Regions from separate parts of the Homo sapiens genome. Here region 2 is linked to region 1. Evidence: promoter capture Hi-C in 16 types of primary human blood cells and fetal thymus (Javierre and others, 2016). All regions are on one chromosome and are shown on one strand. Each heading gives the region's core, a stretch centred on a gene start or on the middle of the fragment in contact. The rest is flanking DNA. Distances are from core to core; before and after follow the strand shown.

Region 1 (5,827 bases), core at 3,025-5,524:
TAAACCAATGGACTGGGTGTTGGCTGTTTTAGAGGATGCAAGGAGATGCTGAGTTTGACCTTAAGTGGCCTCAAGGGTATAGAGCAACCAGGCCATCCGTAGGAGTTACCCTTCTGCATTGTGTTACTGTCGTGAGGGGGATCTTGGACCAAAACTTAAGTGGGCAAGAGCAAGAATGTTATTTAATTTCTGTATCAAGTCCCCATCCCACTAGACTGGCAGAAAACATTAGCCTTGGGCCTTCTTGGATTTCCTTCCCCACCTCTCCAGTTACGTGATGCCAAGAGACCGGGGAGAGTTCGTCTTGTTCCTGCCTCACCCTCGCCATTCAAGTATGGCTGAGGGTCCCCTGCCTCTGTTGTCTAGAGGCCCTGCCCTGGGACAAGAACACCTTTCTTCAAAACAGCCCTTGTATGTGAGCCAGGCACAGTGGCTCACACCTGTAATCCCAACACTTTCAGAGGCCAAGGTTAGGGGGCGGGGGGGATCCCTTGACGCCAGGAGTTTGTGACCAGCCTGGGCAAAACAGTAATACCTCCATCTCTACAGGAAAAAAAAAATAATCTTAAAAACCTAAAAAGCCCTTGTATGGATTTTCTAACACAGTCTACACACAACCTGCCCTTTCTGGGTGGCTGTCCCCCAGCCACCTCTACAACAGACAGGCAGGGAGGCTGGGCACAGGCTCCCTCTCAAAAGAACTTCTCTCTCTACTTCCCTCCTCCTGACATGGGGCAGGATGGAGATGAGACAGGAGATCACTTCTCCCTCCCAGGTTCCAGTTAAGACATTTTGTCTCTACATCAGTCCTCTCTTTCACTGGTTCTACAGTCTTCCAAGTTCCCCTGTGGATACAGGCTTTGAGCACCTGAAGGAGACAGGAAAGGACACACCTTTCCCAGTCAGTAAGGGTCACCCGAACTTAGGCTCTGTACTTGTTCTCCACTATTCCATAGTATAGGTCACACCATGAGTTTTGCTTTTGTCTGTTTTTAACCAGGCCGCTGTTGATTGTGGTTATTGAAAGGGTTTATTTCTTCAACTATAACCCCACTCCATTACGTCACCATTGTCATTGTAATGACCCCCTCTGCCATGGTCACTGGAACACTGGCACTCCTAGTCAGCCAGATAGAGACAAAGGCACTAAGGCCAGAACAACATCAGAGCTGGAAGGGACTTTTTGTTTGTTTGTTTTGTTTTGTTTTGTTTTGAGACAGGGTCTCTCTCTGTCGCCCAGGCTGGAGTGCAGTGGCCCGATCATGGCTCACGGCAGCCTTAACCTCCCTGGCTCAAGGGATCTGGAAAGGACTTTTCTGAAGCTCTGCACCAGCCCCTTTACTGCACCCTGCCTGAGGCCACACCCACCCAGTAGCCGGTGAGTGTGAGAATCCAATCCCGGAAATCCAGCCCTAGTTTTCATTTTGCCAGGAGAATGGCTGGGAATTCTCAGAGCGGGGTACCCTTGCTCAAAGCAAGCTCTCAGAGTCTGACCTTCTTCCAGCCCCTAGCAAGAGAAACAAAAGGCATGGCTAGAGGTGGGGAAGCACCAGAGACCCAGCATCTCCCCGACAGAGGCAGACGTAGCCCTGTTACAGACATGAATGATTTTGTATGCCACACACCGCTCTGCGTCTGTGTCTTGGACATCTTCCCCTGCCAGTAAGCATAACTCTATTCTCTGCGCTTGCTCCACAGTATCCCACAGTACAGACAATATCTGTTTTTTGTCTGTTTGGGTTTTGTCTGTTTGAACCAGCCCCATACTGATGAGCATTTGGGTTGATTCCAGGAATACAACCCATATACTACAAAGGAAGTCCTTTCATGCCTCCGTGCGCACCTGACTCCACACTTTTTCAAAGTAATTCTCCCACCCACATGGTGGGCAGTGTGGTGCATGTCCTCAGTGTAGACCTAGGTGCAGGGAAAGGTGGAATTTGTCCACAGTCACACAGTAAGTTTGTGCTAGAGATGGCAAACACGAGTCCCCAAGACTCCAGACTTAACACTCTCTTAGTCCCAGTTGATGCTCCCTTAACACCAGACTTTTTGTTTGTTTCAAATGACCCAGAATAGGCAAGTGTGAGGGTTGCACCAGGCAATGTGGGGTGAGGGAGAGACCATTAAATAACCCTGATTGATCAAGGGGCTGCCGTGTGTAGTCACCCATGGGATGAAGTAGCTTGGACTATCTCCCCAACTTGCAAAGCACATTCATACCCATGATCTCATCTTAATCTTCTGGGTTCCATATTATTATCTTTTCCATTTAGAAATAAGGAAACTGAAGTGCAGAATGGTAACCTGCCCCCAAATCACACAACTAGTAGTAGTAGAGCCAGGACTAGGAGCCCTGTTCTTTAAAAGTAAATATATTATTACTGCTAAAAAGAAAGATAGCATTGCTGAAAGTGTGAAAAAACTGAAATTGTAACTACAAAAGAAAATAACAACATTGCAGAAAATATGAAAAAAAAAAACCTTGAAAGCAAGAAAAACAAACTAAAAGAAAAAATCTTACTGGGTGACCATGGACCTGTCATCTCATCTCTCTGAACCTCAGTTGTCTCATTTTTAAAGAAAGGGAATGAGGATAAGCACAGCGACGGCAGCCAGTACATACTGAGCACCGCCTTACCAAATTTCCAAGTCTGACCTTTCCCTGCAGGCTTCATGCAAGTATACATATTTCGTACGGCTATAATCATGGGAAGCACAATTTTGTTTGCCGTTTTTCACCTGACACTATCTTGTAAAGTTTTTCTATTGACTACACAGACTCAGCTAGCACCGTCCCAGCAGTTGCATTTTTCAAGGTTGATTAACCCCTGTCCCTGGTGCTGGATATTTCTTGCCACCAAGTTTTCACTATTTTGGCTGATGCTGCAAGAAACATCTTTTGGCTTCTGAGAAATTCTCCAAAGTCAGAGACTGAGGCATTCAGACCCTGAACTCCTGCTTTCCCAAGGCTTTTCACCCAACCCCATCTGCCCTCTGCCTCAGGGCCTGGGCAGAGCCTCGGCCTTGCTGACAGCGTGCTGGAGAGGCTCACCAGGCTCAGCAGCCTCAGGGCAGGCTCAGTGAAGCTTGTAGGCAAAGGGGCTGAAGGGGTCTTTCTTTTGTGTTCCCCTGACTGTTCCTAAGAACATGTGCATTTATGCTTCATACCCTAACTAGGAAAGTTCTCCTTAAATCTAACCCCCAAATCCCATCTTCTGTTCTTTCTACATACAATATAAACTTCTTTGGGCCACAGTCTTGTGAGAATCTCTCCAAAACGTATAGGAAGACATAATGTTGTCTTTACAATTGCACGGTGTCCTCCAACTGTTAAGCCTGTCCCAGGTGAGGTTAAGAATTTCAGTCCCTCTCCACTGCCTCACATCCATCTGGCCAGATGCGTTTCTTAAACTCCTCTTTATCAGCCTGGGGCTGTCACCCATTCTACCCATTGGTCTGCCAGTCGCTGTAAGGTTGTCATGTACCAGAGGCATGAGTACAAATGATGGGGGTGGGGACGGGGGACCTGAGGAGCTGGGTTCAAGCTATGCTTCCCTGCTTGCTGGCACTGAGACCTTGGGGGAAGTCATGTTACTGGCCTCCCTTCAGCTCCCTCGCAGCTTGGGTTTCCCCATCAGAAAATTGGAAGCGATTAGAACCTGTACTTAGCAAGAGTTCTGGGACATCCCTTGTGTGAAAGTGCCAGATACGCTGTAAAGCAGTACCTAGGAGTGCCCCACCTGGGACCACTTTTGAAAATGTCCAAGCCCCACCCCACCACCACCACCACCACAAGGTAACGTTCTGCCCCACTTTTCTCATCCATGTTGGGTGGAGACTTGCGCCATCCCTCGGCTCTCTACATCCATCCGCACCACGCCCAGGTGAACTCACACTCGGGACCCTGAACCCGCCCACTCCAGGCCTTGCGGGCCCTTCTCTCCTCTTCTGCACGCCCCACCCTCCTTTCCCACCCAGACTCCAGTGTGCCCACACCCCACTCCCCATCTTAGCCTGCCTTTCCCCTCTCCCCCAGCGCACGCGTGCATCAGGGCACTCACGAAGCCACCCCGGCAACATCTGGGAGCACGCGCCTCCACATCTGGAAGGTGGGCGCAAGCGTAGCAGGGCCGGTCGGGTTCCTCGCCGCCCCCCGGCCCCGCAGGTGGTGGAGCAGGGCGGGGTGAGGGAGGGGGAGGCCAGCGGGGCTGGGCGGGGCCCGGGGGGCGGGGGCCTGACGGCCGGGCCGGGCGGCGGAGCTGCAAGGGACAGAGGCGCGGCAGGCGCGCGGAGCCAGCGGAGCCAGCTGAGCCCGAGCCCAGCCCGCGCCCGCGCCGCCATGCCCCTGGCCTTCTGCGGCAGCGAGAACCACTCGGCCGCCTACCGGGTGGACCAGGGGGTCCTCAACAACGGCTGCTTTGTGGACGCGCTCAACGTGGTGCCGCACGTCTTCCTACTCTTCATCACCTTCCCCATCCTCTTCATTGGTGAGTGCGCGCAGCGAGCCGCGGAGGAGGGGACGGGAGAGCAGGGAGGGAGGAGGAGGCGCTGCGCGCCGCACCGCTCGGCGTCCCCTTCCGGCCCGCGACCGCCGTCCGCCTCGTTCCCGGGGTCCCCTGCCCTGTGTCCTGCCCGCCGGTCCCCGCACTCGCACACCAGCTCATCCCTTCACTCCCCCGGTGCCCCCGATCCCGCGCCAAACACAGCGGACGTTTGTGACCCATGGGATCACCAAGTTTTGCTTCTGCAGGGCCAAGAGCTGGGATGGGGAAAAGGGAAAGAGGAGGTCTCAGCACGCAGTGGGAAACTGGAGAGGGGTCGGGCCTCACCCTCCGTGGCGCAGCTTAGGGAGCCGGGTCACCCCTCCCGCAAGGCAGCCTCCCTGTCAGCCGCAGCTGGGCCTAGGGAAGAGGGAAGCCTGTGCTTTGGAGTCTGGGATGGAGGCCCAGCTAACCCCTATGCTTTCACCGGGCTGAGCCGCGCAGTGGTCCGTGATCTCTGACAGTCCCAGGCCCGCGCCCTGGGCGAGGAGAGGCGAGAGCTAGGGACTTGGATTCCCTTCCCCCGCCACCCCACCCGGGCATGTGTCTCCAGAGCGCAACTTCTCAGGCTCTGCGCAAAGTAGCTCCGACTCGCCGACGCAGCGACCCCGGCGCCCTTGCTTGCAAAGTTGGGCGCCACGGCCGGGACAATCGTGCGTGCCTCTCCACTGAGGTCCCCCCCATCTCTCTCCAAGACCTTGACTCTTCCAGACCAGTCAAGTCTATCAACTCATAGGGTGTCCCCTGCATCCCCAAAACGTGTTCATTCACTTTAAGAAAACAAGCAAATCTTAAAATTCATATACAGCTTTGGGGAAGAAAGGAAAGATTGTCACAAAATTAGATTTACAAGAGGTTGCTGCAGAAGCAGAGTTGCTAGTTATTAACAAAGACAGTTAGATAGAAATAGAAATAAAACATACAAAATATGTGCTCATATGTGCATCAAAAATCAAAAAAGAACAGCATTTACACTTCTGTTCTCAGCCAAACGGTTTATTAACCTGATGACTTGTCACACAAGAAGTTAGTATGTATAATGGGGTACCTTGGCAGGGCACAGTGGCTTACATCTGTAATCTCAGCATTTTGGTGGGCTGTGACAGGAAGACTGCTTGAGTCCAGGAGTTCGAGACCAGCCTGGGCAACATAGTGAGACCCCCCCCGCCCTTTCTACAAAAAATTAAAAATTAGCTGAGCATGGTGATGTGCGCCTGTAGTCCCAGCTACTCAGGAGGCTGAGGCGGGAGGATCACTTGAGCCTAGGAGATCAAGGCTGTAGT
Region 2 (6,498 bases), core at 3,630-6,129, 240 kb after region 1:
TTTTCTGTTTTATAATTCAATAAGACATTTAGCTTGCAGGAAAAGGGAATATTAAAATGCCTTCATTTGGATTTAAGAATTATAACAGGATTTCCTTTGTGAGAGGAAAAACCACAGTGGCAAGTTTGAGGACTTGAAGGATTTTATTTTTGTAATTAAGTGATAGTTTATTAGCACAGTGGTAATTGTTTCTTCTGACACATTGTACTTTATTCTCATATAACACCATTCATCTAAAGATTACAGATGAATTTTAATCTTGTCTATAACTAAGTTTCACATAATCCATTCATTTTCTTTCTTTTTTAAATTATTTTTTATTTTTTAGACACTGTCGCTCTGTTGCCCCAGGCTGGAGTGCAGTGGCATGATCTCAGCCCACTGCAACCTCTCCCTCCAGGTTCAAGCAATTCTCCTGCCTCAGCCTCCCAAGTAGCTGGGATTAAAAGCATTTGCCGTGACGCCTGGCTAATTTTTGAATTTTTAGTAGAGACAGGGTTTCACTATGTCGGCCAGGCTGGTCTCAAACTCCTAACCTCAAGTGATCTGCCCGCCTCGGCCTCCCAAAGTGCTGGGATTACAGGCATGAGAAACCGCACCTGGCCAATCCATTCATTTTCATTTATCTCTCTCATTTTTTCAGATGAGCAAATATAAATTTTGAAAAATAAGATACTCTCAAATGCCCTGAATTGCCTGTCTCTTATTTCAGCAAATTCAAGTCTGAATATAGCTTGTAAATGTTATCTATTCAAATTCAGCCTCGCCTGTAACAGCAGTGATGATACCATTATGCTAGCTGCCAGTTCAGGGTCTATCAGACTCTGCCTCTCTAAACCAAATAGTTTGAAGCTACCTGGTGCTAAAGCAATCATTCACCCTCCTCTCAGGCTATTTTCTCACTTATCCAGCTCCTGCCCAGTAAGTTCACCAAGCAATTTCTTTCTTTCTTTTTTTTTTTTTTTTTAAGAGTTGGAGTCTCACTCTGTCTCCCAGACTGGAGTGCAGTGGCTCAATCACAGCTCACTGCAGCCTCAAACTCCTGGGCTCAAGAGGTCCTCTGGCCTCAGCCTCCCAAGTAGCTGGGAATAGAGGTGCATGCCACCATGCCCAGCTACACTGACCAGATTCGATTCAGCTGTCTCTGCTTCTGCCTTTGAGCCTCCCCGAGGTTCTCTCTCAGCTTCAGTCTACCTCAGGCAAGACACCTGGCTTAAGCAGCCATTTAGCTAGTGCTGGTCCTGCCCTGGCCCAAAGAGAGGGAGATTTGGACACCTATTACTGCCCTATCCTGACCCATGTCTAGGTATAAAGGGACAAAGACGAACAAAACAAGTCAAAGGCTTGCTCTAAGTCTCTAGATATAGAGGGCCTAAACAGCAAGCATTAGGTTCTGAATTGGACATTTATGACCTTCAAAATAGAAGGGATGATAAATATTATGGATGAATCCTTGTTGAAAACAGAAGTATGGCCAGGCGCAATGGCTCATGCCTGTAATCCTCGCACTTCGGGAGGCCAAGGCCAGAGGATTGCTTTAGCCCAAGAGTTCAAGATTGTGGTAAACTATGATTGGGCCATAATGTTTTCCATCCTGGGTGACAGGAAGGAAGGAAGGAAGTGAGGGAGTGAAGGAGGGAGGGGAGGGGAGTGAAGAGGGGAGAGAGGGAGGAAAGGAAGGAAGGGGAGGAAGAGAGAGAGAAAGGAAGAAAGGAAGGAAAGGAAGGAGGGAAGGAAGGAGAAAGAGGAAGGAAGGAAGAGGAGGGAAGGAGGGAAAGGAAGGGAAGGAAGGAAGGAAAGAAAGAAAGTAGAAGTGTAACTGGAAGTGTTGATGGTTGTTTGCAGCTTTGCTGCTCAAAGTGTGACCCAGCAGCATCAGTATCAATTGAGAGCTTGTTAGAAATTTGGCATCTCAGGCTGGGAGCAGTGGCTCTTGCCTGTAGTCCCAGCACTTTGGGAGGCTGAGGCGGGTGGATCACTTGAGGTCAAGAGTTCAAGACCAGCCTGGGCAACATAGTGAAACCCTGTCTCTACCAAAAATACAAAAATTAGCTGGCTGTGGTAGTCCATGCCTGTAATCCCAGCTACTCGGGAGGCTGAGGCAGGAGAATCGCTTGAACCTGGGAGGCAGAGGTTGCAGTGAGCCACGATCTCACCACTGCACTCCAGCCTGGGCAACAGAGAAAGACTCTTTCTCAAAAAAAAAAAAAAAAGGCATCTCATGCTCCCTCCTAGACCTAATGAATCCAAATCTACATTGTAATAAGACCCTTCAGGTGATTTTTCTTGGCACTGTCTATATTAGTCTGGTGGGGCTGCCATAACAAAATTTCACAACTTGAGTGGCTTAAACAACAGAAATTTATTTTCCTGAAGTTCTGGAGACTGGAAGTCAAGATCAAGTTGTCAGCAGGTTTGGTTTCTTCTGAGGCCCCTCTCCTTGCTTTGTAGATGGCTGCTTTCTTTCTTTTTCTTTTTTTTTTTTTTTTTTTTTTTTTTGAGACAAAGTCTCACTTCCACGCCCAGGCTGGAGTGCAGTGGCATAATCTCAGCTCACTGCAGCCTCGACTTCCTGGGCTCAAGTGATCCTCCCACCTCTGCTTCTGGGGTAGCTGGGACCACAGACATGCACCACCATGCCCAACTAATTTTTTGTACTTTTTGTAGAGACAGGGTTTCACCATGTTGCCCAGGCTGGTCTTGAACTCCTGGGCTCAAGTGATCGACCCGCCTCAGCCTCCCAAAGTGCTGAGATTCCAGGTGTAAGCTTTCACGCCTTGCTAAGATGACTGCTTTCTTACTGTTTCCTCATATGGCCCTTTCTCTGTGTGTGCATCCCTAGTGTCTCTCTGTGTGTCCTAATCTCCTCTTCTTATGAGGACATCAGTCGGATTGAATTAGGGCCCCCTAACCATCTCATTTAACTTAGTCATCTCTTTAAAGGTCCTATCTCCAAATACAGTCACTTTCTGAGGTACTGAGGGTTAGGACTTCAAAATATGATATGTCAGTGGGGATATAATTCTGCCCATAACAGTGTGTAAAGCAAGTCTGGCTTGATCTGTCCTTTCCTTTGAAAGTCCCCAGCATGACCAGAGCCTCAGAGATGATAGACTTGGGCTGCCCAAAGTACACAAGAGCCAAATGCCAAATGCTAATCCAGTCATCAACAGAGAGACATCACTGTCATAGGATTGACATATTTGAAAGATACATGCCCTCATTTCTCTCTGTTGACTTACCTAGGAGGCTAGATCCTCCTCAGGTCACCAAGTAAACCTGGCATGTTTACCCCTTCTCAATGACACTGTATTTCTCTAGATACCTTAATGCAATCCATAGTGTCAGCATATTACCAACCTGGGAAACCTTTAGTCTCCTTCATCCACTTCTTAAAAGCAATCCTATGTCTCTCATTTTCTCAGGTTGGGGTGCATATCCTGGTAACCCCCAAACAATGTGATATAACCATACACCACTCACCTGATCTTATTTTTATTTATTTATTTTTTGTGTGTGTGAGGTGGAGTCTCGCTCTGTTGCCCAAGCTGGAGTGCATTGGCGCAATCTCAGCTCACTGCAACCTCCACCTCCCAGGTTCAAGTGATTCTCCTGCCTCAGCCTCCCTAGTAGCTGGGATTACATGCACATGCCACCATGCCAGGCTAATTTTTGTATTTTTGTTAGAGATGGGGTTTCGTCACGTTGGCCAGGCTGGTCTTGAACTCCTGACCTCAAGCGATCTGCCCACCTCTGCCTCCCAAAGTGCTGGGATTACAGGCGTGAGCCACCTCGCCTGGTCTCCATAATCTTATTTAATCTTATTTATGTTGTGAGACAACAACACTATGCAATAGATACTATTATCCCCATTTTACAAGTGAGGAAAGTGAGGCTCAGGGATATTAAGGAACTTATTTAATGTTACACATTTGGTAGTAGGAGGTCAGAATTTAAGCCAGCTCCAAAGCCTGTGGTTTTAGGTCCTGCACTATACACACCACCTCTTTGGCCTTTTCCTCAGGCAAGCTCCAAACCTGCTTTGCAAGCTATTATGTACAGACTTGTGACTGACTTGTTTTCCTGCTCCTGCACGTGGTTCATATGTCATGTGTCAACCTCATCATTATGATCACTATCATCTTCGTCATTATTAACATTTGCTGAAAGCTGTCACGTTGCTAGGCAATTTAAGTTTAATTCCTCATGTGCAGCTTCTATCTGCATGCTTTTCCTTTAAATAATCACACTGCTAGGAATACAGTACTTCTTTTTGAAAGTATGACACCACAAGCAACTGTTAAGGTATTTGTTTTAGTGCTGGAAGCTGGAGAGAACAACCATTTTGCTCAGTTATTCACCATGCACAATTGGTCCTCTGGTTTCACCCTTCATGCTTGATGCCTTCAAAGATCAAGATAAATCCTTTTAGCCAAAATAAAAATAAATCCAAAGGAACTTAATCTGTGGGCCTATTACTGCTCAGTGTTGAATGACTGTGCTTTTATTCTAGTCAGATTTCTTTTTAAATTTTAAAATGTGGCTGGGCGCAATGGCTCACTCTTGTAGTCCCAGCACTTTGGGAGGCTGAGACGGGCAGATCACCTGAGGTCAGGAGTTTGAGACCAGCCTGGCCAACATAGTGAAACCCTGTCTCTACTAAAAATACAAAAATTAGCCATGCGTGGTGGTGCATGCCTGTAATCCCAGCTACTCAGGAGGCCGAGGCCAAAGAACTGCTTGAACCCAGGAGGCGGAGGTTGCAGTGAGCCAAGATCGTGCCACTGCACTCCAGCCTGGGCGACAAAGCAAGACTCTATCTCAAAAAAAATAAATAAATAAATAAATAAAATAAATTAATTAATTAAATTAAATTTTAGAATGCTAAGATTTGTTATTGGAATTTACAGTTTTGCTGCCTAATCTTCAGATCATGGATTTTTATATCAGTCAGTAAATGAATGTAAAGGAAGACAGATTGTTTTGTATTTGAAGTTTGGTTAATATACTTACCAGTTTTGGTCACTTTGGGAATGTTACTTAACTTCAGAGTCTCAGTTAATCTCCCTATTACAATGGGTTACTCAACTTTTTGTTTGTTTGTTTTTTGGGGTTTTTTTTTTTTTTTTTTTTTTTTTTGAGATGGAGTCTTACTCTGTCGCCCAGGCTGGAGTGCAGTGGTGAGATCTCAGCTCAGTGAAACCTCTGCCCCCCAGGTTCAAGTGATTCTCCTGCCTTAGCCTCCTGAGTAGCTGGGATTACAGGTGGGCACCATCACAGCTGGCTAATTTTTGTATTTTTAGTAGAGACAGGGCTTCACCATGTTGGCTGGGCTGGTCTCAAACTCTTGACTTCAGGTTATCCACCCACCTTGGCCTCCCAAAGTGTTGGGATTACAGGCGTGAGCCACTGCGCCTGGCCAATGGGTTAATCAACTCTTAAAAGACTTTTTATTTTTTAGAGATAAATACTGAATAAAATGATATGATGGCCAGGAGTTGCTTCAAGTCATCCAAGTATAGGGGAAAGTGGGTGGGTATACAGTTGAAACAAGACAATATACTGATCATGATCATAGCTCAAGTTGGGTGAGGGGTACACAGAGATTCTTATACTATTCTCCCTATTTTTCTATATGTTTGAAATTTTTCTATTTTTTCTTTTCTGTAAGAGATGGAGTCTTGCTCTGTGTCCCAGGCTGGAGTACAATGGCGCGATCTCAGCTCACTGTAACCTCCGCCTCTGGCGTTCAAGCGATTATCCTGCCTCAGCCTCCTAAGTAGCTGAGACTACAGGCATGTGCCACCACGCCTGGCTAATTTTTTGTATTTTTAGTAGAGACGGGGTTTCACCGTGTTAGCCAGGATGGTCTCAATCTCCTGACCTTGTGATCTGCCCGCCTCGGCCTCCCAAAGTGCTGAGATTACAGGTGTGAGCCACTGCGCCCGGCTGCGCTTTCTCTAAATTAGCAGAGACAAATTTGGAGTCAGGCTGACTGAAGCTCTTACTTTTCAACTGAGTAACTTGTTTGGTCTGCTCTATAACTAATGTGTCAACAATGCATGGAGTACTAGTTCAGGATTAAGAACTGACTCTCTTGGAGGAGGAGGGAGGAAAGTTCTGATTTGTAACATTTGCAGGGGTAAATACTTCCACCATTGCCAATCTTGCCATGTCACTGAGTACAGAATTGGGAGATGTACAGTTACTGCATACCATTACCTAGGATTTCTACTATACAGATGCAGTAGATATAAGTAACCTCAAAACATAGATCACAGTGAAATGTAGCAAAAATAATTAAGAAGTGACGAGTTTTGATAATGTTTTTGCCTTTGTTCTTAAATTTTTTTTTTTTTAAGACAAGGTCTGGCTCTGTCTCCCAGGCTGGAGTGCAGTGGCACGATCTCAGCTCACTGTAACCTCTGGGGCCCAGGCTCAAGCAATCCTCCTACCTCAGCCTCCTCAGTAGCTGGGACTACAGGCATGCACCACTAT

What was found. Contacts are between HindIII fragments. The CHiCAGO score rates a contact against its expected background, and 5 or more counts as called.
Region 2: a fragment that was not itself captured here is called in contact with the fragment with the promoter of ABCC8 in region 1 in 1 of 17 cell types (M1 macrophages); the score reaches 5.9 in M1 macrophages.

The regions. Positions count from the first base shown.
Region 1 is chr11:17,475,292-17,481,118 of GRCh38, reverse strand. It overlaps ABCC8 (ATP binding cassette subfamily C member 8), which reads left to right and starts at 4,274. Exons shown (of 39, transcript NM_000352.6): 1 at 4,274-4,490. The coding sequence starts at 4,343. LOC124902641 (a long non-coding RNA gene) reads right to left here and starts at 4,468. Exons shown (of 2, transcript XR_007062609.1): 1 at 4,388-4,468. RefSeq lists an enhancer at 5,062-5,618. The HindIII fragment of the contact is 8,626 bases long and covers 3,092-5,827 here.
Region 2 is chr11:17,236,196-17,242,693 of GRCh38, reverse strand. No RefSeq gene overlaps it. Among named protein-coding and RNA genes, the nearest start is that of PIK3C2A, 31 kb to the right of the region's middle. The HindIII fragment of the contact is 4,219 bases long and covers 2,770-6,498 here.